Linked DNA regions of Homo sapiens: region 1 is linked to region 2. The links are contacts of gene promoters, found by promoter capture Hi-C in blood cells and fetal thymus (Javierre and others, 2016). All regions are on one chromosome and are shown on one strand. Each heading gives the region's core, a stretch centred on a gene start or on the middle of the fragment in contact. The rest is flanking DNA. Distances are from core to core; before and after follow the strand shown.

The links. The method cuts DNA at HindIII sites, captures the fragments that hold promoters and counts their contacts. A CHiCAGO score of 5 or more calls a contact.
Region 1: a contact is called between a fragment that was not itself captured here and the fragment with the promoter of INTS1 in region 2, in 1 of 17 cell types (endothelial precursors). The highest score is 5.1, in endothelial precursors.

What each region holds. Positions count from the first base shown.
Region 1 is chr7:1,234,427-1,239,594 of GRCh38, forward strand. It overlaps UNCX (UNC homeobox), which reads left to right. Exons shown (of 3, transcript NM_001080461.3): 3 at 1,406-2,900. The coding sequence ends at 2,551. Among named protein-coding and RNA genes, the nearest start is that of UNCX, 4.1 kb to the left of the region's middle. RefSeq lists an enhancer at 168-996. The HindIII fragment of the contact is 5,643 bases long and covers 1-5,168 here.
Region 2 is chr7:1,501,686-1,506,618 of GRCh38, forward strand. It overlaps INTS1 (integrator complex subunit 1), which reads right to left and starts at 2,704. Exons shown (of 48, transcript NM_001080453.3): 1 at 2,638-2,704; 2 at 2,218-2,316; 3 at 1,216-1,506. The coding sequence starts at 2,275. RefSeq lists a silencer at 2,350-2,909 and enhancers at 3,796-4,392, 4,018-4,207, 4,393-4,933. The HindIII fragment of the contact is 9,546 bases long and covers 713-4,933 here.

The sequences.
Region 1 (5,168 bases), core at 1,383-3,882, 270 kb before region 2:
GCATAATTAAATGTTTCCCTGGAGCAAAGAAATCCTCTTTTTCTGCGGTGGGTGCGGTGTGGGGTCCAGGTCTGTGGTGCGGTGTGCGGTTGTGGGTGCTAGGCGTTGAGGCAGACGCTGGCAAAACGCCTGTTTATCACCAATAGCTTTGTCTAAAAAGGTGTGTTTGTCCTGCGCTTGGACCTCCTCTCATGACCTCTTCTGCTTGGAAATCCTTTCATCCAATTTGTTCTAAGTGTCTTAAGTGAAGTCAAGACCCCTCCATGTCTCCCCTAATACGATAATGACTAATTCTTACAGGCAAGGCAGTCCGGAATTCGCACCAAAAAAAAAAAAAAAAAAAGTTTAAAGAAGGAAAAGGCGGTTACAGCGTTGGGGGAGGGCTCGGCTTCATGCTGGAGACCTCCCCATGGACAAGGCTCCCTGCGACAAGGCTGGGCCTGCTATTGTGCAAGTCTCTGTGTGGCCGCGACAAAGAATCCGTATTAACGCGCCCTCCTGGGGAGGGCAGGACTGCCCGAGCTTCCGCGGGGCTCAGACGGATTTGACTGTGTGTGTTTGGTGGCTGGCGGTTGAGTGAGGGTGTAGCGCTGCCGTCCCCGGATGTCCTGTGTGGCTCCCCAGGACAAGGACTGCAGAGAGGATGGAAGAGACGCGATGGGCCCAGCCTCTCCTTCCGGCCTGGTGGTCGCCTCTTGCCTCCCCACCTGCCTTGGCCGGTGGCCCAGGCCAAGGACCGCAGGTTTGGGAAGGCTCCGTTGGCGCCCTGGCCCAGGGTTTGCGGAAAGAAGGCTGTGTTAGCTGTGCCCTGGGAGGGAGGCTGCAGAGGCCCACCCAAGTACGGCTCCCCAGGCCCTTCCGGACGAGAAGCACCCATATTTCCCTTCAAGGGATTCCGCCCCCACCCCCGAAATGTGGGCTTTGACACAGTCTCCAAGGGGCCGAAGACAGGTGTGGAGGGCGGCTGTGGCTCAGCGGTCCAACGGCAGGATGGTCAGCGCCAGGCCGGGCGGGCTGCTTAGAACACGAGCCGTGAGCGGCCAGGAAGGGTGAACAGGGGCCTTGCTCTCTAGCCTCCGGACCAGGAACCCGACGCTCTCCGTCCGGGGCCAGACCGGCCCCCCAAGTAAGGGGCGGCTCCCAGGTCCCCGAGGTGAGAAGCCAGAGCGGGAAGCTGGCCGAGAGGCCCCGTCTACGCGCCTTCCGGGTGGAAAAGGCGCTCGCTGGAACCTGCAGCTCCAGTGGCAAAGCCCAGCTCAGGGCCCGCTCGGCCGCGCGGCTTCACTCCTGCCCCGGCCGAGCGGAGGTTGTGCAGGCCCCTCTGGGGGGAGCGGGGAGGTCCTCGGCCCCGGCGGCCAGCCCGCCGCCTGATTGTGGCTTCCTCTCCCCTATCCGGCTGCTCTAGGTCTGGTTCCAAAACCGCCGGGCCAAGTGGAGGAAGAAGGAGAACACGAAAAAGGGCCCGGGGCGGCCGGCGCACAACTCGCACCCGACCACGTGCAGCGGCGAGCCCATGGACCCGGAGGAGATCGCGCGCAAGGAGCTGGAGAAGATGGAGAAGAAGAAGCGCAAGCACGAGAAGAAGCTGCTGAAGAGCCAGGGCCGCCACTTGCACTCGCCCGGCGGCCTGTCCCTGCACAGCGCGCCCAGCTCCGACAGCGACAGCGGCGGCGGCGGCCTGTCTCCGGAGCCGCCCGAGCCGCCGCCGCCCGCCGCCAAGGGCCCCGGAGCGCACGCCTCGGGCGCCGCGGGGACCGCGCCCGCCCCTCCCGGCGAGCCGCCTGCACCCGGCACCTGCGACCCCGCCTTCTACCCGAGCCAAAGAAGCGGCGCCGGCCCACAGCCGCGCCCAGGTCGCCCTGCGGACAAGGACGCGGCCTCGTGCGGGCCAGGGGCCGCTGTGGCGGCGGTGGAGCGCGGCGCCGCGGGGCTGCCCAAGGCCAGCCCATTCAGCGTGGAGAGCCTCCTGTCCGACTCGCCGCCGCGCCGGAAAGCCGCTTCCAACGCCGCCGCCGCCGCCGCCGCGGGGCTGGACTTCGCGCCCGGGCTGCCGTGCGCGCCGCGGACCCTGATCGGCAAGGGCCACTTCCTCCTCTACCCCATCACGCAGCCGCTCGGCTTCCTGGTGCCGCAGGCCGCGCTCAAGGGCGGCGCGGGCCTGGAGCCGGCGCCCAAGGACGCGCCGCCCGCGCCCGCCGTGCCGCCCGCGCCGCCTGCCCAGGCCAGTTTCGGGGCCTTCTCGGGGCCCGGCGGCGCCCCGGACTCGGCCTTCGCGCGTCGCAGCCCCGACGCCGTCGCCTCCCCGGGGGCCCCAGCCCCGGCCCCGGCGCCTTTCCGGGACCTCGCCTCGGCAGCGGCTACCGAGGGCGGCGGCGGGGACTGCGCGGACGCGGGGACCGCCGGCCCCGCGCCCCCGCCGCCCGCGCCGTCGCCCAGGCCCGGCCCTCGGCCTCCCAGCCCCGCCGAGGAGCCGGCCACCTGCGGGGTTCCCGAGCCTGGCGCGGCGGCCGGACCCAGCCCGCCGGAGGGCGAGGAGCTGGACATGGACTGAGGCCGCGGCGGCCGGGAGAGGCGCGTAGCCGGCCCGCGGCCGCTCGCTCAGGCTCCGACTCACGCAACGAATCAGGTGATCGGCTCTAGAAACACTGCTTTCCCTTCTTTTCTTTTGTTTTCTTTCTTTTATTATTTTTTTTAAGAGTAAACGAAAGTGCTGTATGAATTCGGACCCAGGCAGCAACCACAGGACTGGGGGTGAGACCCTCCTCCTCCCAAGAGAGCAAAAAGGACCCATGGCCCCCAAAAAACCCCACAACGAGAATCCTCAGCCTTGTAAAATGCAAAAATGTCTAAGAATATTTATATATGTACCATTTTTGATAAATAAAGCTGGTCAAACGCAAGTTTTCAGGTCCATCTTTTTAAATTTGCCAAGCGCCCAGCCCCGCCGCCCTTCCCACCTTTCCACGCCTCTCTCCGCGGGTGGGGCCCGGAGGGGGCCCCGCACTTCCCGGGGGTCTGCGCTTAATGCGTCCTTTTGTGTGCGTGTGTGTCTGTGTTTTCTGATTCAACACATTTATGCATCTGCGGCTCCCGGTCCCCGCCCGCCCCGGCGCTCCCCCTCCTACCCCGCGCCGCACACGCACGCTCACATCCGCCGCGCGCCCCCGCGCGCACTGGCACACGCCGGGGCGCGCGGCGCGGGGTGACGGAGCCGGGGGCTGCGAGGGCCGGGCCGCTGGGCTCCTGCAGAGTTTTGATATGAAAGTAATTATTTTCCGGTGGCTGCTGCGGGGACTGGGTTTCTTGCCCAAAGGGTTATTATACATTACCGATTTCTAGTGATATGGAATCACATAAACTTCCTACAATAATAGAATTAGCATGAAAGGCTGGGGTGTCAAATTGAAATTGGAGAATAATAGCGCCGGCAGCTGGGGGAGTGCGTGCGCATATTGGAGCGGAGATGGGGAATCGTGGGGCGGAATTTTCATGAGCTGCACTCTTTGTCAGCGCTCTTGTAGCCGGCTATATTAAGATAGATGCCCAATGATATCCCTCATTGTTCTGTCGCTTATATTGATGTTGCTGCGTTATCAGCCTATTGATCATGTGTCGCCTGTAATAGGACAGGCGCCGCCAACGCGACTCTTTACAAAAGCCGTGCACATTTGTTCTAATAGGGTCCGGGTCCCCAGGGGACCCTTCGGGGACTTCAGGACATCTGCAGCGAAGAAATATTAGCAAACTTGGCTGGAGCCTGCAGCCAGCCCCGCGCCCCCGCCCCTGCCCGCAGCCGCCCCATCCCAAAGTGAACCGCCACCCGTCCTCCATCTCCCCCCACCCCCCCAAAAACCCCAACCCACTGGCCTCAATTTTCCTGGGCCCTGGGTCCTCGTTGCCGCAAAAGCCACCAATTCCCCGAGAAATTGGGATCCCAATTATTAAAACCATTAATTCCAACGAGGCTGAGCACAGTGGAATTATGTTTACAGCCTCGTTAAATATCCCTGATCCCTCCTGGTCATCAGGCCTTTATTTGCAAATAAATTGAAAATAATCTGAAGGACAGCTTTCCTCCTCGCGCGGGCGCAAATGAATTTCGGAGCCCGAGTCCCTTTAATAATATTTACATAATTTTCGCTCAGTGACTCTGATATTTGCTCTCTAGGAGACCGAGCTTATAGGAAAAATAATTAGATCAAAAGAAAAGTGAGAGGGGGAAGGAAGAGCAGGGGAGGGGGCGGGATCCACGGGAAGGAGACCTCTGCGCTGGTTGCCCAACTCTGGGACAGGCCGCCCCCAGTGGAAGCCAGGAGTTGTCGGGGAGGGGACGCGGGGTTCCCATGGAGGTCGCAGGAGCTCGGCCGCAGAGCCTGGCCCTCTGCCCCTACCCCTGCTTCCTGGGGTCCTGCAGCCTGGGCCTCCCCACAGGCCGGCCAGGGCCGCGTCCCAGCAGCGCGGCCTCCAACCCTTTGTCTCCGGCCGGTCCCGTCTGGCCTCTGCGGTCAACTCTTCCTTCTCCCGCCCCCACTCCCACCCCCATTAAACTGTATTTAAAGTGTCATTTAAATTATGAAATTGTGGCAGAAAATTGTGCGTAAAATGCCGGTTATTTTATCTAAGGTGAACAATTTGTCTGGCAGCGATAAATCGCCTCCTTCCTTCAATTTGCAGCTGTTCATTTCGGTGGCGGCTGCACCGAGTTGGGGGGAGGCCTCATGTTTAATGGATTTGCAGTTTGAATGCTGGAGTATCGCTGGCTGCACACCCGTGTCCTTAAGGTGAAATTACTGATTTACTTAAACAGTTTAGCTTTTTTTTCTGAAAGCCCAAAAGCAGCAGGCTGTGTGATTCTAGACAAACTATCAATCGATCTGGTCGAGCCAGCCTCCAGGAGATGTATCCTTCATGAATCATACTTTATGAATTCAATTTCTACCAGGAGAAATTTTCAATTTGAACGCCGGATCATTATGGGAGAGTGTAAATTGTTTTTGCTCTATTATGCATCCGACGCCATCATTTTTCTTTCTAATTACGGAGGTGTCAGGTCGAGCTGTCATGCAGGCGCTGATTTTCAATTTAACTGATCATCATACATTCATTTTCCCATTTGATAAATCTGCTATCTAGACGGCTCGCCATGCCTAGAATATTAAGAGCCGAGC
Region 2 (4,933 bases), core at 1,454-3,953:
CCACCGGCACCAGCTGCCCAGGGACACGCCTCATGGGAGGTCTGAGGCTCGACCTCCTAAAGCAGTCCCCCAGCTGTGCCATCCTGGGCCGTTTGCCCCCAGGGCTCCCTGATGCCAACTGAGTCCAGCACAAACACTGCCCACAGCGCCCAGCCTCAGCTCTCATGAGCGTGTGCTGCCCAGGCCAGGCCAGGCCTCCATTCCCTGGGCACAGTCCATTCTCTGCTTGGCATCTCCCTTTCCTGCCTGCCCCGGTTTCATCGCCTGTGCTTCCAGGCCCAAGCCCATACTGCAACTCCCTGCCAGGCCTCCTCCCTTCCAGGGCCGTCGGGGACTCACTCACAGGCTTGCACTGCAGCAGCCTGGTCCCTCCCTGAGGGCAAGGCCACAGCCCACAAGTCCCCTGGGTCCTGTCTGGCACAAAACTCAGTAACCAGAGGTGGCGCGGCTTGAACAGACACCTCACTACCAAAGTCATCAGGACACTTGTTCTTTTTGACTCCTACAAAGAAATTACCCAAAAGAGATGCTCCCACAGAAACAAAACACTGCAGACCATGAGGCTTGCTGGGGCTGGTGCGATAGCTGCCAGAGCGACTCCCAGGGAGTCACGGAGCCTTGAGAAATGGTCGTTGGGAAAATGGCGCAGAGGGGCAGGGGCGATTCTAGGCACACAGTTAAAGGCATTTCTGCGAGAACGGGACAGTGGTGAAGCTTACATTCCCCCGTTGATGTCCTTACTGTTCTGCTGCTTTTCAACTGAAAACAGGGAGGGGATCAACTCTTCTCTGTTGGTAACCAGGAGGGAAGGAGGAACCAAGTACACATCGCCTCCGCTCAGGTTGAGAGAGGAACGCACCAGGATGGGCAACCTTGAGAACAGACACCTGGGGTGTCGTCACGCCCGGTTTACCCCCAGGGCTCAGACAGTGCCCGTCACAAAGGGGGCGTCCAACAGACACATGAGACAAACAACTCAATAAGGGAGTGACCCGGTTCTCAAAGGGCAGCCACTGGCAGTGCAGGACGCAGATGCACACACGGGATAAGGGCATCTACGTGAGAAGCACTTCCAAGAACAAGCCACAAACATCCGCTCTCCCAAAGGACCTCGGCCATACGGGCAGCACTAGGCCTGGAGGGGGCCTTCCCTGAACACCTGATGGACGGCATGAGCTGAGGGGTGTTCTCGGGGGATGTCCACAGACTCATTACCTTCAATTGGCACCACAGATGGCTCTTTAATCGACGGAGAAATGGCTCGTTTTTCTGCCACTGCAGCCTCAGCCAGGCGCCCCAGGGCACTCAGAGGGGGTGTGGAGGAGAGTTTGGGGCGTTTGGTGAGACCGGTGAGGGCCGAGGCACTGGACAACGCGGCCGCCGCATCCCGCTTGCGCTCAGAAGGCAGGCCGGAAGGGGCTGGCTTCAGCAGGGTGGACGCCGTTTTCGATTCATTGGCCTGACCCTTTGAGCCCAGAGCAATGAAGTCTCCTGGGGGAGGGTGCCCTGCAGAGAAAGGAGAGAGAAAACCGGGCACATTTGCAACACCCAAGATGGAAAAAGACTGACTCTAACCTCCTGTTATGTCAGAGGGGATTAAACAAGGGTCAGAGGAGGCAAGGAAGAAGCCAGAGCTCACTCAGCAGCCTACAGCAGAGCTGGGACCAGCAGGATACGCACAGGTGATGGTGGACAGTCACGTAGCGCTAACCACAAACCAGGCCATCTCTGGTCTATCCAAATTAGTGTGCTTAGTAACCCCCGCCCCGAGTTTCCGCAATAGGTGCTATTACTCTAACTTTACAAGAGAGAAAGGGACACAGAGAGGTTAAGCGACGTGCCCAGCGTCACACAGCAGGCGAGTGGCAAAGTCCGGAGGATCTGAGCCGACAGTTCAGCCGCAGACCCCGTGCTACGCTACACTGTGCTGCCTCCCGCCTCCTGGCTGGGGAGACCTTCCGCTACTGTCGGCCGCCTTGCAGCTCAGCCTGAAACGAGATCACCGGGGTCCCGAAGGAAGTCGCCACTGTCCCAAGCCTCCCAGGGACTCTCAGAGCCGCTGAGGACCGAGAGCAGTGTTTCCAGACCGAATTCCTGGAAACAGCCGCGGCTGCGGAACAACCAAGCCCAACGCAGGATCCGCGGCAGCTGAGATCCCCAAAGACCCCCAAAGACCCCCAAAGACCCCCGGGCTGCAGAGCGAGGAGGGAGACGCACCTGAGGGTTTGGCCGCGGCGCTGGGCCGGCGCACCGTGGTGGGCTTGGCCCGGTTCATCCTGCCCCGTCCCTCGCGGCTCCCGGCGGCTGCGGCGTCACCTGCGGAGGAGCCAGCGTGCGGTCATTCCTTCACTCATTCGCTCGTTCGCTCGCTCATTCGCTCCCTTGCCGCACGGGGCTTGGGCCTGGGACCCGGGGACAGTGGTCCCGCGCCCGCCCGGCGGGGCGATGCTGCAGGAGCTGCAGGGACCCCGCCTCCCAGCCGCCCGGGAGCGGCTCAGTCGGGCGGCAGCAGGCGACGCGGACGCCGGGCTGGAGGCGGCAGAACCAGAAGGGACGGCCCAGAGGCCGGGAGCGGTAGCCGGGAGAACCAGGCGCTCGCCCGGCAATGAGGAAGCGCCCAGGCCGCGGCTCACTTACCTCTGGCCCATCGCGACCGGAGCGCCGCCGCCGCCACCCGGCCACCCCGGAATCGGAAACCGATCTCACCGCCCTCGAGGACCCGACTTCCGGAACAACCGGAAGGAAAACAGTGCGGCGGGAAGCGGGCCCAGAAGGAGGCGCGAGAGGCCCGCGGCGCCGGCCTGATGCCTGCAGCGCCCCATGGCGGCGGGAGGCGGGCTGGCCGGCGCCGCGCGCATGTGGTCCGGTCCAGGTGGGTCGGCGGCGCGGGGCAGGCGCTGGCCTCTCCATTCACAGGTGGTGCTGGCGTTGCGAAGGGACGCACTCCAGGACGCACGGCGGGGAGGAGTGGCGTCAGGGATCCGCGGATGAGTCAAGTGGCAGGTTCTGCACGTCCCGGAGAGCGGGGGCGGCCGGGGCGCAGGCACTGGCGAGGGGGCGCAGCCCGGGGGGCTCCCGGGGAGAGACCCTGTCTCAAATAATAATAATAATAATAATAATAGCTTTATTGAGATAGAACTCGTGTTCCACAAAGTTCACCCTTTTCTTTTTTCTTTTTTTTTTTGGCACGGAGTCTCGCTCTGTCGCCCAGGCTGGAATGCAGTGGCGCGACCTCGGCTTATTGCAACCTCCACCTCCCAGGTTCAAGCGATTCTCCTGCCTCAGTCTCCCGAGTAGCTGGGATTACAGGCGCCCGCCACCATGTCTGGCTAATTTTTTTGTGTTTTTAGTAGAGACGGGGTTTCACCATGTTGGCCAGGCTGGTCTCGAACTCCTGACCTCAGGTGGTCCGCCCGCCTTGGCCTCCCAAAGTGCTGGAATTACTGCGCCCGCCCCGCCCCCACGCCTTTTTTTTTTTTTTTTTAATGGAAACACTGATGGGAACAAAACTCAAAAGACACAAAAGATCATACAGTTGCCAGGTGTGATGCTCATGCCTGTAATCTCAGCACTTTGGGAGACCAAGGCAGGAGGATCGGTTGAGTTCGAGACCAGCCTGAGCAACATAGCAAGACCCCCATCTCTACAAAAAAATAAAAATTAGCTGGGCATGGTGGCATGAACCTCTAATCCCAGCCCTTTGGGAGGCCAAAGTGGGAGTCTGAGACCAGCCTGGGCAACATAGTGAGACCCTATCTCTACAAACAAAAATCAAGAATAAATTAGCCAGGCATGGTGGTGCATGCCTACGGTCCCAGCTACTGAGGAGGCTGAGGTAGGAGGATCTCTTCAGCTTGGGAGGTCAAGGCTGCAGTAAGCTATGATGGTGCCACTACGCTGCAGCCGGCCGACAGAGCGAGACCCTGTCTAAAAAAAAATAAAAATAAAAGGTGGGGGAATCATCCAGTCAAAGGGTCGAAGGTCTCCCCTGACCCCTGAGCAGCTGGTCCCCTCCCCTGGAGTCAGCCTGTGTTCTGATTTGTGCCTGTGTTCCCGGCTTTTCCGTGTGCGTTCAGGCAGCCACCCGTGTGCCTCCCTCTGCCTTGTCACCCTGCAGGTAGCGCACGGCTCCTCTTTTCTGCACCTGGCTTTTGCCACTTAACCACATCTTGGAGATCTGTTCCCAGCAGGGCACTGACTCGAACGCTGCCCCGCCACCGAGGGAGTCCTGAGCACCGCCTGCCCGGTGTGTCCCATCTCCTCATCCAGGGACCGCAAGGCAGAGCTGGTCTCCCTGTGCCCCTGAAGTTGGGTGTGGCCATTTGACTGTGGCCTCAGTGAGGCTCATGGCCCCAGGCTGCAGCCTGAGAACTGCTGTGTGACCCGCCACGGTCTCTTTCCACTCCTGTGGGCACCAGCTGGGTCCCCGCAGGACCCCAAGGGCTCCAGGGCCCTGCACCCTGCGCTGTGTGGGCAGCGAGTCCGGAAGGAGACGTCCGTGGTGCCCATGGGAGGAGAGGCCGGTCAGGCGCGGATCCCTGCCGGACGCCAGGCGGGGGCTGTGCGGCTTCATCCCTCTACAGTTTCTCAATCTGTCCCTCAGGGTAACTCTCTAAGGGGAGGGGAGATCCGATGGGGTAATGCTTCCTCCTCCTGTCACCTGAATGGGAGCACCCTGCACAGAGCTTCCTCTGCCCCGCCACCTGCCTCTCCTCATCCTCTGACCAGCATCACCGCCCCTGCATGCGGGGCCTGTGCCTTCGGCAAATGCCCTCACCCGGGCCCAGGCCAGAACCTCAGGGTCGACCTTGAGAACAACTACCTCCTCCTCCCCCTCCCCCTCCCCCTCCCCCTCCTCCTCCCCCTCCTCCCCTTCCTTCTTCTCCCCCTCCTCCCCCTCCCCCCTCCTCTCCTCCTCCCCCTCCCCCTCCCC